Linked DNA regions of Homo sapiens: all the other regions are linked to region 2. Evidence: promoter capture Hi-C in human tissues and cell types (Jung and others, 2019). All regions are on one chromosome and are shown on one strand. Each heading gives the region's core, a stretch centred on a gene start or on the middle of the fragment in contact. The rest is flanking DNA. Distances are from core to core; before and after follow the strand shown. Region 1 holds the start of ARRDC2 (arrestin domain containing 2). Region 2 overlaps ABHD8 (abhydrolase domain containing 8). Region 3 holds the start of INSL3 (insulin like 3).

Evidence for each region. The method cuts DNA at HindIII sites, captures the fragments that hold promoters and counts their contacts. A contact is called where the count stands out against the background at its distance.
Region 1: the fragment with the promoter of ARRDC2 here is called in contact with a fragment that was not itself captured in region 2 in 1 of the 25 tissues and cell types used here (dorsolateral prefrontal cortex).
Region 3: the fragment with the promoter of INSL3 here is called in contact with a fragment that was not itself captured in region 2 in 1 of the 25 tissues and cell types used here (spleen).

What each region holds. Positions count from the first base shown.
Region 1 is chr19:18,006,623-18,011,193 of GRCh38, reverse strand. It overlaps ARRDC2 (arrestin domain containing 2), which reads right to left and starts at 3,024. Exons shown (of 8, transcript NM_015683.2): 1 at 2,610-3,024; 2 at 2,417-2,483; 3 at 2,076-2,223; 4 at 1,500-1,602; 5 at 1,155-1,411; 6 at 836-998; 7 at 465-622. The coding sequence starts at 2,883. RefSeq lists an enhancer at 2,751-2,970. The HindIII fragment of the contact is 21,109 bases long and covers 1,839-4,571 here.
Region 2 is chr19:17,298,231-17,302,307 of GRCh38, reverse strand. ABHD8 (abhydrolase domain containing 8) reads left to right here. Exons shown (of 5, transcript NM_024527.5): 2 at 684-1,452. The coding sequence starts at 692. It also overlaps a transcript of MRPL34 not described here. Among named protein-coding and RNA genes, the nearest start is that of ABHD8, 3.2 kb to the left of the region's middle. RefSeq lists enhancers at 346-846, 847-1,347. The HindIII fragment of the contact is 7,858 bases long and covers 1-4,077 here.
Region 3 is chr19:17,820,269-17,824,056 of GRCh38, reverse strand. INSL3 (insulin like 3) reads left to right here and starts at 2,538. Exons shown (of 2, transcript NM_005543.4): 1 at 2,538-2,740. The coding sequence starts at 2,551. The HindIII fragment of the contact is 21,957 bases long and covers 1-3,788 here.

The DNA of each region.
Region 1 (4,571 bases), core at 1,775-4,274, 710 kb before region 2:
AAACCCCGTCTCTACTAAAAATACAAAAATTAGCCACGTGTGGTGGCTAACACCTGTAATCCCAGCTACTCGGAAGGCTGAGGCAGGAGAATCGCTCTACCAGGGATGCGGAAGTTGAAGTGAGCTGAGATCGCACCATTGCACTCCAGCCTGGGTGACAAGACTGAAACTCCATCTCAAAAAGCAAAGCAAAACAAAACAAAACACAAAAATTAGCAGGATGTGGTGGCGTGTGCCTGTAGTCCCAGCTACTCAAGAGGCTGAGGCGAAAGGATTGCTTGAGCCCGGGAGGTCGAGGCTGCAGTGAGCTATGATTATGCCACTGCACTCCAGCCTGGGTGACAGAGCAAGACCCTGTCTAAAAAAACAAAAAAACAAAAAAAACCCATCTACTATGTCTGCCACCCCATCAAGGCTCCCAGGGCCCAGAGAGGCATGGGTGGTTCTCAGACCCCTGAGCTCACCTCAGAGTACAGGGGTGGCGGGCGGTAGCGGAACTCTTGGATGTAGGCGAAGAACGGGCCTTCAAGGCTCATGTCGGGGTCCTGCGGAAGCGGGAAGGGGCTCTGCCCCAAGGCTGCCTCCTCAGTGTCGGCTACCACCTCCGAGTACTCAGGAGGAGCTGGAAGCGAGAGACAGGGTGGGTGAGGTTGGCAGGAGAGAGCCCTGCTCCAAGGGACCAGGGGCCAGGAGCTGGCTTGTGCCAGCTCTGGGGCTGCCAGGCTGTATGTCCTTTGGTTGGGATTCCGGGGGACTCGTGGTGAGAGAGTTGACCCGGCATCCACCTCTCCGTGTATCCACCCACCCTCTGCATGCAAGCAGGGTGGGAGCTTACCCTCAGGCCGCTCCGGCAAGGCCCCCAGCCTCCAGTCCAGCAGGAAGCTGGCGTGGCTGCCCACGCTGGAGGAACGGCTGCCAAAAGGGTGCAAGGGAATGGTGCCGATCACCAGTGGCAGCTCCAGCAGCAGCTTGGACGTTCCTGGGATATCCACACAGACCTGGAGGAAGGAACCATAAGGGAGGGTGCCCAGGCAGCCTCCCCAACCCCCACCTCCCTCCTATGCCTGGGGAGACTGAGGCCTCAGCTTCCCCCAGTCTGAGGGAATACAGGGTGAATGTAGGCACTGTCCCCCAGGGCCAGCAGGATGCCCTACCTTGAGTGCGTAGTCCACGTGTAGAACGCGGCAGTGCAGGATGGAAGGACCCACTGGGGGGATCCGCAGTGCCCGGCCCTGCCACAGCGCCCGCTGCCCGGGGCCCACCGGCTCGCCCGCGAGGCTGGCCACCACTGCCCGTTTCTGCTTTCGGGCGCCTCGGGCCATGAACGTCTGTGTCTGCACCACGGCTGCCCGAGGCAGCACAGGACGTGTGGAGCCGTTGTCGATCTCGGCAAAGACAGGGATGACCTCTCCTGCAGCAAGGAGCAGTGGGGCCTCAGTTTCCCCTCCTGCAACCCCAACACCAGCCCCCGTCCCAACCCAGTCCGGTCCGCCTGCTACCTGGGGTGTAGCCCTTGCGGTCGATCTTGGCCGAAAGGGAGACTAGGCCACGGTTACAGTACCAGGATCGGGCAACCTTTTCCCGAGCCCCCGCTTGAGGTGCCTGTCGGTGTAGAGGAAAGTGACATGGATGAGTCACTTTGTGCAAACCACAGTCGCTGTGGAGCTTCCAAACCACCCCCAGCTGAGGGAGGACTTTGGGCAGGGCTTGGTTTCTTTTTAACAATCCAGGAACTATCCGTTAAATAGAGCCAGGAACACAACCCATCTTATAAAGCCAGAAATGAAATGTATAAGCCAAGTGTTTGGTGTGTAATTCACACTTGGTAAGCCCTAGCTCTGGTCTATTTCACAGAAGAGGCATCTGAGGCTCAGAGAGGGCTTCAAGACACTTGCCCAGAGTCACACGGCAAATGGGTGCAGATCCCAGTGGATTCCACACGCATTCCCACACCTGCCTCCCTCCCTGCCAGGGCCCACCTATGACCTCCATCTTATTGGTTGGTGTCGCCCAGCAGCCAGGCAGGCCCCTTCCTACAATACTCCCAACCTACCTCCCCAAGGGTGGCCACTCACCAGCAGGGCTGGCGTGTTGATGTCCACAGGCTCGATGACAGTGAACACCTTCCTTGCCCGGCGTGCTGGGACCCAGGGCCGGTGCAGGGTGGCCTTGATACAGTAGCGGACACTACCGTGTTTGCCCTCGAAGGATGTCACCAGGGTCCTAGGGTGGAGGGACGGGACTTCAGGGGACAAGATACAGAGACAAGCAGGCAGGGAGAAGGAGACACAGACACTCCGGGGGCCTCCCAGGGGGAGAGTCTTGGGGCTCAGAGGTGCCCAGATATCCAGTATTGGAGGTACCAATCTGGAAGGGGCTGCAGGCTTAGGGCAACCCTGCACCCCAGAGGACTTACGGGGGCAGCTGGAAGCTGAACAGGAACTCATGGCGCCCAGGAGGCAGCGTCGTGGTCTCCCCGGTATCTGCAGGTAGGAGAAAAAGGAGGCGACTGAGCGGTTGCGCTGGGGTCCCAGGGCTGACGGAGGTACCGCCGTCCAGGTGGTGGGAGGCACACAACTGGTGTTGGAGCAGGGGTCCTCCATCCGTACCTGGCGCCAGGAGCGTGGCGCGGTGGCTCACGACCTCCACGCGTTCACTGTAGCTCTGCGTGTAAGCCGTGCTCGAGCCCGCGCTGCGCGACTCGGTCCAGTGCACGTGGGCGCGGCCCCGCGCGCGCAGCCTCAGGGCACCCACACGCGCGGCGCTTGACAGCTCCAGCAGCACCCGGCCCGCCACGGCCTGGCCGCCGCTAAACACGGGCTCGACGCCCGCGGTCGCGCCGTCCAACTGCACCGAGAACGCTTTCACCTTGTCGAATAGCATCGCGTCCGGGGTGCGAACCCACGACAGGCGGAACCTGGCCTCGAACTCGCGAACCGGCAGCTCAAGATGCCGACGCTGCAGCCTCAGAACGCAAAATCGCCGTCAACGCGCAGGCGCGCTCACCAACCGGAGCAGAAAATCCCCGCGCCGTGCGTCGGCGCCGCTTTTATACGGCAGGGCGGGGGGGGGTGGGGTCACCGTCTCTTCCCCGCCCCGGGAAGGGACTCCACCAATAGCGCGACAAGGGGCGTGGCTCTGCCCAGGCGTGGAGCAAAATAACAAACGCCCCTGCTCACCGCCGGCTGCCCCCTTCCCTCGCGGACCCCGGGGAGAAACTGAAGCCCTTAGGCTGCCAGAGCTGGTCTCTCGCGGACCCCGGGGGTAAAGAGGAAAAAAAGAGGTGCAGAGGCAGGGCCCAGGCCTGAGGTCACCTAGCAGAGCCTTCAGCCTCTCGGCTTAATCACTCACCAGCCGCCCCTCGTTGACGTGACTCGAGGCATGTCCAGCCCGATTTGGGGCGGGGGACTCTCGCCCCAGTTGAGGGCCAGAGAGCCTATGACTGTTCCAGGCCTGTTTCCCCCGCTATGCAAAGGGAGAAGTGGAGGAGGTGGGTGGGACCGCCCTCCACACTGGTGCCTGCTGCACCCCTTTCCTGATTCAAGTCCCGCTTAGCTGGTGGCTCTGGGCAAATGACAACCTCTTGGAGCCTCAGTTTCCACCTCTGTAGAGCCGGGAGAAAGTAAAAATCAGTCCTGACCTCAGAAGGTTGTGCATGGATCATCGTGCAGCCCCAGCTGGACTCCTCCAAGAGCCTCGCTCCCGGGTCATCAACCTGCTCTTGACATACCGTCACTCGGTCGCGCCTCGGCGCATTCGCCCAGGAGCGGTACCTACGAAATGATGTTCCCTTCCCAATTTTCAGCCTCTGGCAAACCCTACCTTCCCCGCAGCCCTTGTGCCTGCTCCAGTCATCCTCAGCCCCCGTCCCGCCACAGAGCTGAATGCAGGGGACGCTCGGGCACCCCCAGGTCCACAGCTGCGGTGTGGCCACGGGACGGCGTGACCTCTCTCTGGGCTTCAGTTTCCCCAAAGAAAAGTCGCATGGAGTTTCTCCAGCGGGAGTTGCCTCTGCGTCGTCTGCGGGACGCTGGCGCCCTCTCGTGGCAGCGTAATGCGCTGCCGCTGAACCCATCCCCTGCCGTGACTGTCCGCCTCTGAGCCTGGCTCAGGAGACTTCCACCACCTCAGTGAGGTGTGTGGGTGGAGGGGGCGGTCATAAACAAACACGGTCACCCTCAGCCCGTGATGGGGATCGGAACAGGAACGACGGAGTTGGAGGCACAGTGATCAGCCTGGAAGGCTGCCTGGGAGGATGGGTCTTTGGAGTTGAAAGGAAGGTCTGGGACCTTAGGCCAGGTTTCAATGGATACTAGAGGGGAGACAGTAGGCCGTTAAGTCCGGGAGGAGAAGCGGGATTAGGTAACCCTGAAGGGACTACTGAGCCAGCGCCTCCCTCAATTCATTTCGCAGACGGACCCCAAAGGCCCAGAGATGGGTGGGGCTCTGCCCGAGGTCACACAGCACCTCCACTGGCCTCGCCCCTCCAGTGTCACTGTTTTTTCCTTAAATGTATAACAATTTAACAATTTTTAAGCTCCCTCTCCCTCTCCCTCTCCCCTTGGTCTCCC
Region 2 (4,077 bases), core at 270-2,769:
ATGGTATAAACTCCAGCTGGGGGGAGGGGGTGTCTTCCGGCTGGTCCACATTTGCCACAATGTCCCCTTCTCCAGGAACATCCCCACACAAGACGCCACCACCTTCCCTGTGGACACCCTGTGGGGTAAGCCATAGCCAAGTCTTTCTCTCTGAGGATAGACTAGGGTGACCCAGGAGGGTAACTACCACAAAGGCACTGCTCAGACAAAACATGTCAGTGCACGGTGGCTCACACCTATAATCCCAGCACTTTGGGAGGCCGAAGCAGGAGGAAAATTTGAGGTCAGGAGTTCAAGACCAGCCTGGCCAACATGGTGAAACCCCATCTCTACAAAAAATACAAAAATTAGCTAGACATGGTGGCACCTGCCTATAATCCCAGCTACTCAGGAGGCTGAGGCAAGAGAATCGCTTGAACCCAGGAGGGGGAGGTTGCAGTAAGCCGAAATCCGGCCACTGCCCTCCAGCCTGGATGACAAAGCGAGACTGTCTCAAAAACACACACACACACACACACACACACACACACAAACAAAAAAATCTCAGTGCCGTGGCTCACTTGATCTGGCGCTCCCCAAACTGGAGTCTAAAACAGTTCTCCCAAGGCTCAGGGAGTGCCTGCTGCACGGTGCAGGGTTCTCATTGAGACAGCACCTGAACTGGCTGCTGTCCTCACTCACAGGACACACCATGCTGACCGGGGTGACCGACGGTATCTTCTGTTGCCTGCTGGGCACGCCCCCCAACGCCGTGGGGCCACTGGAGAGCGTCGAGTCCAGCGATGGCTACACCTTTGTAGAGGTCAAGCCCGGCCGCGTGCTGCGGGTGAAGCATGCAGGACCCGCCCCAGCCGCTGCCCCACCTCCACCATCATCCGCATCCTCGGATGCAGCCCAGGGGGACCTCTCCGGCTTGGTCCGCTGTCAGCGCCGGATCACCGTGTACCGCAATGGGCGGTTGCTGGTGGAAAACCTGGGCCGAGCCCCTCGAGCCGACCTCCTACACGGGCAGAATGGCTCTGGGGAGCCGCCGGCCGCCCTGGAGGTGGAGCTGGCAGATCCGGCGGGCAGCGATGGCCGCTTGGCCCCCGGCAGCGCAGGCAGCGGCAGCGGCAGTGGCAGTGGTGGGCGGCGGCGGCGAGCCAGGCGCCCCAAGAGGACCATCCATATTGACTGTGAGAAGCGCATCACTAGCTGCAAAGGCGCCCAGGCCGACGTGGTGCTCTTTTTCATCCATGGTGTCGGCGGTTCCCTGGCCATCTGGAAGGAGCAGCTGGACTTCTTTGTGCGCCTAGGCTATGAGGTGGTGGCTCCTGACCTGGCCGGCCACGGGGCCAGCTCTGCGCCCCAGGTGGCCGCAGCCTACACCTTCTATGCGCTGGCTGAGGACATGCGAGCAATCTTCAAGCGCTATGCCAAGAAGCGAAATGTGCTCATTGGCCATTCCTACGGGTAAGTGAACCCTGGCATGTGGGGTGGGGGTGAGGGATGGGGTCAGCAGGGACTACAGTCACAAAATACTGAGTTTTTGGCTGAGCCCCGTGGCTCACGCCTGTAATCCCAGCACTTTGGGAGGCCGAGGCAGGCGGATCACCTGAGGTTGGGAGTTCGGGAACAGTCTGGCCAAGGTGGTGAAACCCCGTCTCTACCAAAAATACAAAAATTAGCCAGACGTGGTGGCACGCGCCTGTAGTCCCAGCTACTCGGGAGGCTGAGGCAGAGGAATCACTTGAACCGAGGAGGTGGAGGTTGCAGTGAGCCGAGATTGTGTCACTGCACTCCAGCCTGGGCGACAGAGGGAGACTCTGAGATGCCACTGACACCTGTAATCCCAGTGCTTTCGGGGGCCAAGGCGGGAGGATATCTTGAGGCAAGGAGTTTGAGACCAGCCTGGGCAACATAGGGAGAACCCCCTAGCTCTACAAAAAGTACAAACATTAGCTAGGTGAGGAGGTGCACGCATATAGTTCCACCTACTTAAGGGCTGAGGCAGGAGATTGCTTGAGTCTGGGAGGTCGAGGCTGCAGTGAACTGTGATCACACCACTGCACTCCAGCCTGGGCAGCATGGCAAGAACCTGTCGCTCTTTAAAAAAGAAAAAAAAATCCGGGCGCGGTGGCTCACGCCTGTAATCCCAGCACTTTGGGAGGCTGAGGCGGGCGGATCACGAGGTCAGAAGATTGAGACCATCCTGGCTAACACGGTGAAACCCTGTCTCTACTAAAAATACAAAAAATTAGCTGGGTGTGGTGGTGGGCACCTATAGTCCCAGCTACTCGGGAGGCTGAGGCAGGAGAATGGCATGAGCACGGGAGACGGAGCTTGCAGTGAGCCAAGATCATATTGTGCCACTGCACTCCAGCCTGGGCGACAGAAGGAGACTCCGTCATGAAAAAAAAAAAAGGGGCCACCACGCGCGGTGGTGCACATTTGTAATCCCAGCACTTTGTGGATGGATCATTGGAGATGAGTTTGGACAACATGGCAAAACCTTATCTCCTAAAACAAAACAAAGCAAACAAAAATCCTAATTTTTCTCCTTGAAAAAAATCCCATTTTTCAATTTAATTTTTACATTTTTAAAATTTTTTTTTCTTTTAAATAGAGATGGCATCTCACTATGTTGCCCAAGATGTTCTTTAACTACTGGGCTCAAGTGATCCTTGCACCTCAGCCTCCCAAAGTGCTAGGACTACAGGTGTGAGTCATTGTGCTCAGCCTTAATTTTTTTTTTTTTTTTTTTTTTTGAGATGGAGTCTCACTCTGTCCCCCAGGCTGGAGTGCAGTGGCGTGATCCTGGCTCACTGCAAGCTCCACCTCCCAGGTTCATGCCATTCTCCTGCCTCAGCCTCCCTAGTAGCTGGGACTACAGGCACCCGCTACCATGCCTGGCTAATTTTTTGTCTTTTTAGTACAGACGGGGTTTCACCGTGTTAGCCAGGATGGTCTCGATCTCCTGACCTCGTGATTCGCCCTCCTCGGCCTCCCAAAGCGCTGGGATTACAGGCGTGAGCCAACGCACCAGGCCAATTTTCAAGTTCAAAAAAAAATTATATAGAGAATGGGGGGGGGGTCTCATTATGTTGCCCAGGCTGGTCTTGAACTCCTGGGCTCAAGCCATCCTCCCTCCTTGGCCTCCCGATGTGGTGGGGTAACAGGCATGAGCCGCTATACCAGGCTGAAAACTCCCATTAGCATATGTAATCAGACAGGGATTTCCGTCATCACTGATATTGTTTCACATTGTTCTAAAGCAGTGTTGCTCAGGCCAGGTGCAGTGGCTTACGCCTGTAATCCTAGCACTTTAGGAAGCCAAAGCAGGCAGATCACTTGAGGTCAGGAGTTCAACACCAGTTTGGCCAACATGGTGAAACCCCATCTCTACTAAAAGTACAAAAAATTAACCAGGCATGATGGTGTGTGCCTGTAATCCCAGCTACTCGGGGGTGTGAGGCAGGAGAATCACTTGAACCTGGGAGGCAGAGGTTGCAGTGAGCCAAGATCACACCACTGCACTCCAGCCTGAGCAACAGAGTGAGACTCTGCCCAAAAAAAAAAAAAAAAAAAAAAAAGCAGTGTTGTTCAATCCCAGCACTATCGTGTTTGGCCAGGTTATTTTTTTTCTGTGAGGGGCTATAGGATGTTTAGTAGCATCCCTGGCTTCTGCCCACTGGATGCAACTACACAATCTAGTGTTGATCATGACAGTCAAAAATGTCTTCAGTAGTTGCCAAGCGTGCCCTGGTGGGCAGAATTACCCCCAGCTGAGAACCACTGCCTTAGACTAAGTTAAAAAATCAACTGCCCTGGAGAACACTGTGCATTCAGGAAGCGCTCATCGGAATCCTGTAAATTCTAGGCATTTACAAAGGCATGGGTTACTGTAATTCACTCCTGCTTAAAGGGCAGGTAATACAACCTAAAACTTACCAAGAACCCCTCCATGGAAGGCTTGGTCCCCAGGGCTTGACCACTACCAAGTGGCCTCATTCTCTCCTTTATCCAGGAAGAAAGGCAAGATTGAACAGCCAGGCAAGTTGAGCACCACTGTTTTAGAGATTCTAGCCTATGCAATTA
Region 3 (3,788 bases), core at 1,289-3,788, 520 kb before region 2:
AACTGAGAGATGAAGGCCGAGAGAGACTCAGAGAGAGAGAGAGAGAGAGATCCCTGTCCCTGCTCTCTTAGCCCCAGAGGGCCCCCTAATTTGGTAGAAATAGGGAGGGAGCTGCTCTGGGGTCAAGCAAGACTCGAGTTCCAGCCCAGGTTCTCTCCTGCCTAGGGTCAAGCATCCTTCCCTCTCTCAACCTCAGATTCCCTCCTTGGAAAAACAAAGCTATAAGACCCCCTAGGCATGAAGCGGGGGCCAAGCATCCACTGAACAAATAAATCCTGCTCTATTCTGGGTCCACCAGCCCCTGCTCACCCAGAGGGGACAACCGTGTTGGGGAGACAGAGCTTCGGATGGGACACCCCCAGCCCTGCGTGTCAGGCGCCTTGAGAAGACCTGGGCTCTGCTCAGCCTCCTGTGACCTTGGGCAAGTTTGGGGTCCTTTCTCTGTGCCTCAGTTTTCTTTTTTTCTTTTCTTTTCTTTCTTTTTGTCTGGTGAGGGGACGGAGTCTCTGTCCCCAGGCTGGTGTGCAGCGGCACCATCTCGGCTCACTGCAATCTCCACCTCCTGGGTTCAAGTGATTCTCCTGCCTCAGCCTCCCGAGTAGCTGGGATTATAGGCATGCACCACCACATCTGGCTAATTTTTGTATTTTTAGTAGAGACAGAGTTTCACCATATTGGGCAGGCTGGTCTCGAACTCTTGACCTCAAGTGATCCACCTGCCCCATCTTCCCAAAGTGCTTGCATTACAGGCATGAGCCACTGCACCTGGCCTGTGTGCCTCAGTTTTCTCATTTGTACAGTAATAGAAACAACAAAATTCTGAACATTTCTGGTCTTGGAAGATGCCCGCTGTCTTCCCCCCTGCCCCCCAGAAAAGGCAGGATTATTACTTTTCAGTTGATCTATTTCATCTCTTTAAACTGGTTAAGACAATAGCGAAGACTTGGCCGTGTGTGGTGCCTCACACCTGTAATCCCAGCATTTTGGAAGGCCGAGTAGGGAGAACCACTTGAGTTCTAGATGAGCCTGGGCAACATAGCAAGACCCCTGCCTCTACAATTAAAAAATTAAAAATGGCCGGGCGCGTTGGTGCACGCCTGTAATCCCAGCACTTTGGGAGGCCGAGGCGGGTGGATCACTTGAGGTCAGGAGTTTGAGATCAGCCTGGCCAACATGGTGAAACCCCGTCTCTGCTAAAAAATACAAAAATTAGCCAGGCTTGGTGGTGGGCACCTGTAATCCCAGCTACTCAGGAGGCTGAGGCAGGAGAATCGCTTGAACCCAGGAAGCAAAGGTTGCAGTGAGTCGAGATCGCACCACTGTACTCCAGCCTGGGTGACAGAGTAAGACTCTGTCTAAAAAGATAAAAATAAAAATTAAAAAATTAAAAATTAGCTGGGCATTGTATTGCAGGCCTGTAGTCCCAGCTACTCAGGAGGCAGAGGCTGAAGGATCGCTTGAGCCCAGGGGAATGAGGTTACAGTGAGCTATGATCCTGCCATTACAGGCCAACCCAGAGAGATCCTATGTCAAAAATGAATAAATACCCTGGTGTGGTCGCTCTCGCCTGTGATCCCAGGACTTTGGGAGGCTGAGGCGGGAAGATGACTTGAGTCCAGGAGTTTGAGACCAGCCTGGGCAACATGGCAAAACCCCATCTCTACAAAAAAAATACAAAAAATTAGCCGGGTGTGGTGGCGTGGGCCTGTAGTCCCAGCTACTCAGGAGGCTGAGGTGGGAGAATTGCTTGAGTCAGGGATAGGGAGGTGGCAGTGAGCCCATATCGTGCCACTGCACTCCAGCCAGGGTAACAGAGCAAGAACTCATCTCAAAAATAAAAAATAAAAATAGGTGGCTGGGCGTGGTGGCTTACACCTGTAATCCCAGCTACTTGGGAGGCTGAGGTGGGAGAATCACTTGAACCCAGGAGGTGGAGGTTGCAGTGAGCCGAGATCGCATCACTGCACTCCAGCCTGGAAGACAGAGCAAGACTTTGTCTCAATAATAATAATAAAAATAATAATAGTCCAGGCACAGCTCATGCCTGTAATCCCAGCATTTTGGGAGGCCGAGGCAGATGGATCGCTTGAGGTCAGGAGTTGGAGACCAGCCTGGCCAACATGGCGAACCCCAGTCTCTACTAAAAATAAAAAATAAAAAAAAAAAAATTAGCCAGGCATAGTGGTGCGCACCTGTAATCCCAGCTACTCAGGAGGCTGAGGCAGGAGAATCGCTTGAACCCGGGTGTCAGAAGTTGCAGTGAGCCGAGATCAAGTCACTGCACTCCAACCTGGGTGACAGAGTGAGACTCCATCTCAAAAAAAAAGAAGAAAAAAATAAAAAAGAAAGACTCGTTGCCCAGTGCTCCCTCTGGGAGAAGTACATCCAAGGCCCTGGCCCTGGGAGAAAGGCTCTGGCACTAACCCCACCCTTGACCTTTTTCCTGGGCGGTCCTGAAGAATGTTCTGTCCCTTCTCCAAGGCCCCCAGCTGGGACGGCCCAGGCGCCTATAAAGGGGGTCCCCGCTTGGCCCCGGCGCCACCCACCACCATGGACCCCCGTCTGCCCGCCTGGGCGCTGGTGCTGCTGGGCCCTGCCCTGGTGTTCGCGTTGGGCCCCGCGCCCACCCCAGAGATGCGTGAGAAGTTGTGCGGCCACCACTTCGTACGCGCGCTAGTGCGCGTGTGCGGGGGCCCCCGCTGGTCCACCGAAGCCAGGAGGCCTGCGACCGGAGGCGACCGTGAGTGGGGACGGGCAGGGACAGCGCTCTGGGAAGCCGAGGTGGGGCAGGTGCACGTAGGCGCAGATGCACACGTGCAGGGAGGTGGGCAGGTTTGCATGCATGTGCCCAGGGCTCACCTGCCGGCTGCGTGCACAGATCGTGGGTCCGCACTGGAGTGTGTGTGAACGCGCGTGTGAAAGTCCCCAGAGCCGTTAGCCAGGCGTGGTGGCTCACGCCTGCAATCCCAGCACTTTGGGAGGCTGAGGCGGGTGGATCCCCAGAGGTCAGGAGTTCGAGACCAGCCTGGCCAAAATGGTGAAACCCCATCTCTACTAAAAATAATTTTTAAAAAAATTAGCCGGGGATAATGATGCACATCTGTAATCCCAGCTACTTGGGAGGCCAAGGCAGGAGAATCGCTTGAACCCGGAAGGCAGAGGTTGCAGTGGGCCGATATCATGCCATTGCACTCCAGCCTGGGCGACAGAGTGAAACTCCGTCTCAAAAAAAAAAAAAAAAGAAAGTCCTCAGAGCATGAGTCCCCCTGAGGGGCCAGAAACAGAGTGAGGCAGGAGAGGTAGGCTCTTGCAAGTACATGGTGAGATCCTGTCTTAAAATTTCAATATTTTGATCTTCATGAATTTTTGCCTTAATTTTGCTTTGTTTGTTTGTTTTTTGAGACAGGGTCTCACTCTGACGCCCAGGCTGGAGTGCAGTGGTGAGATCTCGGCTCACTGCAGGCTCAACCTCCTGGGCTCAAACCATCCTCCTGCCTCAGCCTCTGGAGTGGCTGGGATACAGGTGCTGCCACCACACCCAGCTAATTTTTTTTTCTTTTTCGTAGAGAGGGAGTCTCACTCTGTTTCCCAGGCTGGTCTCAAACTCCTGAGCTCAAGTAATCCTCCCACCTTGACCTTCCAAAGTGTTGGGATTAGCGATGTGAGTCACTGTGTCCAGCTTTAAAAGTATTTAAAAGTATTGCTTTTGAAAAGTATTGCTTTTCACAATTATGTTACTTTATTTTATTATTTTATTTTTATTTATTTATTTTGAGACATAGCCTCGC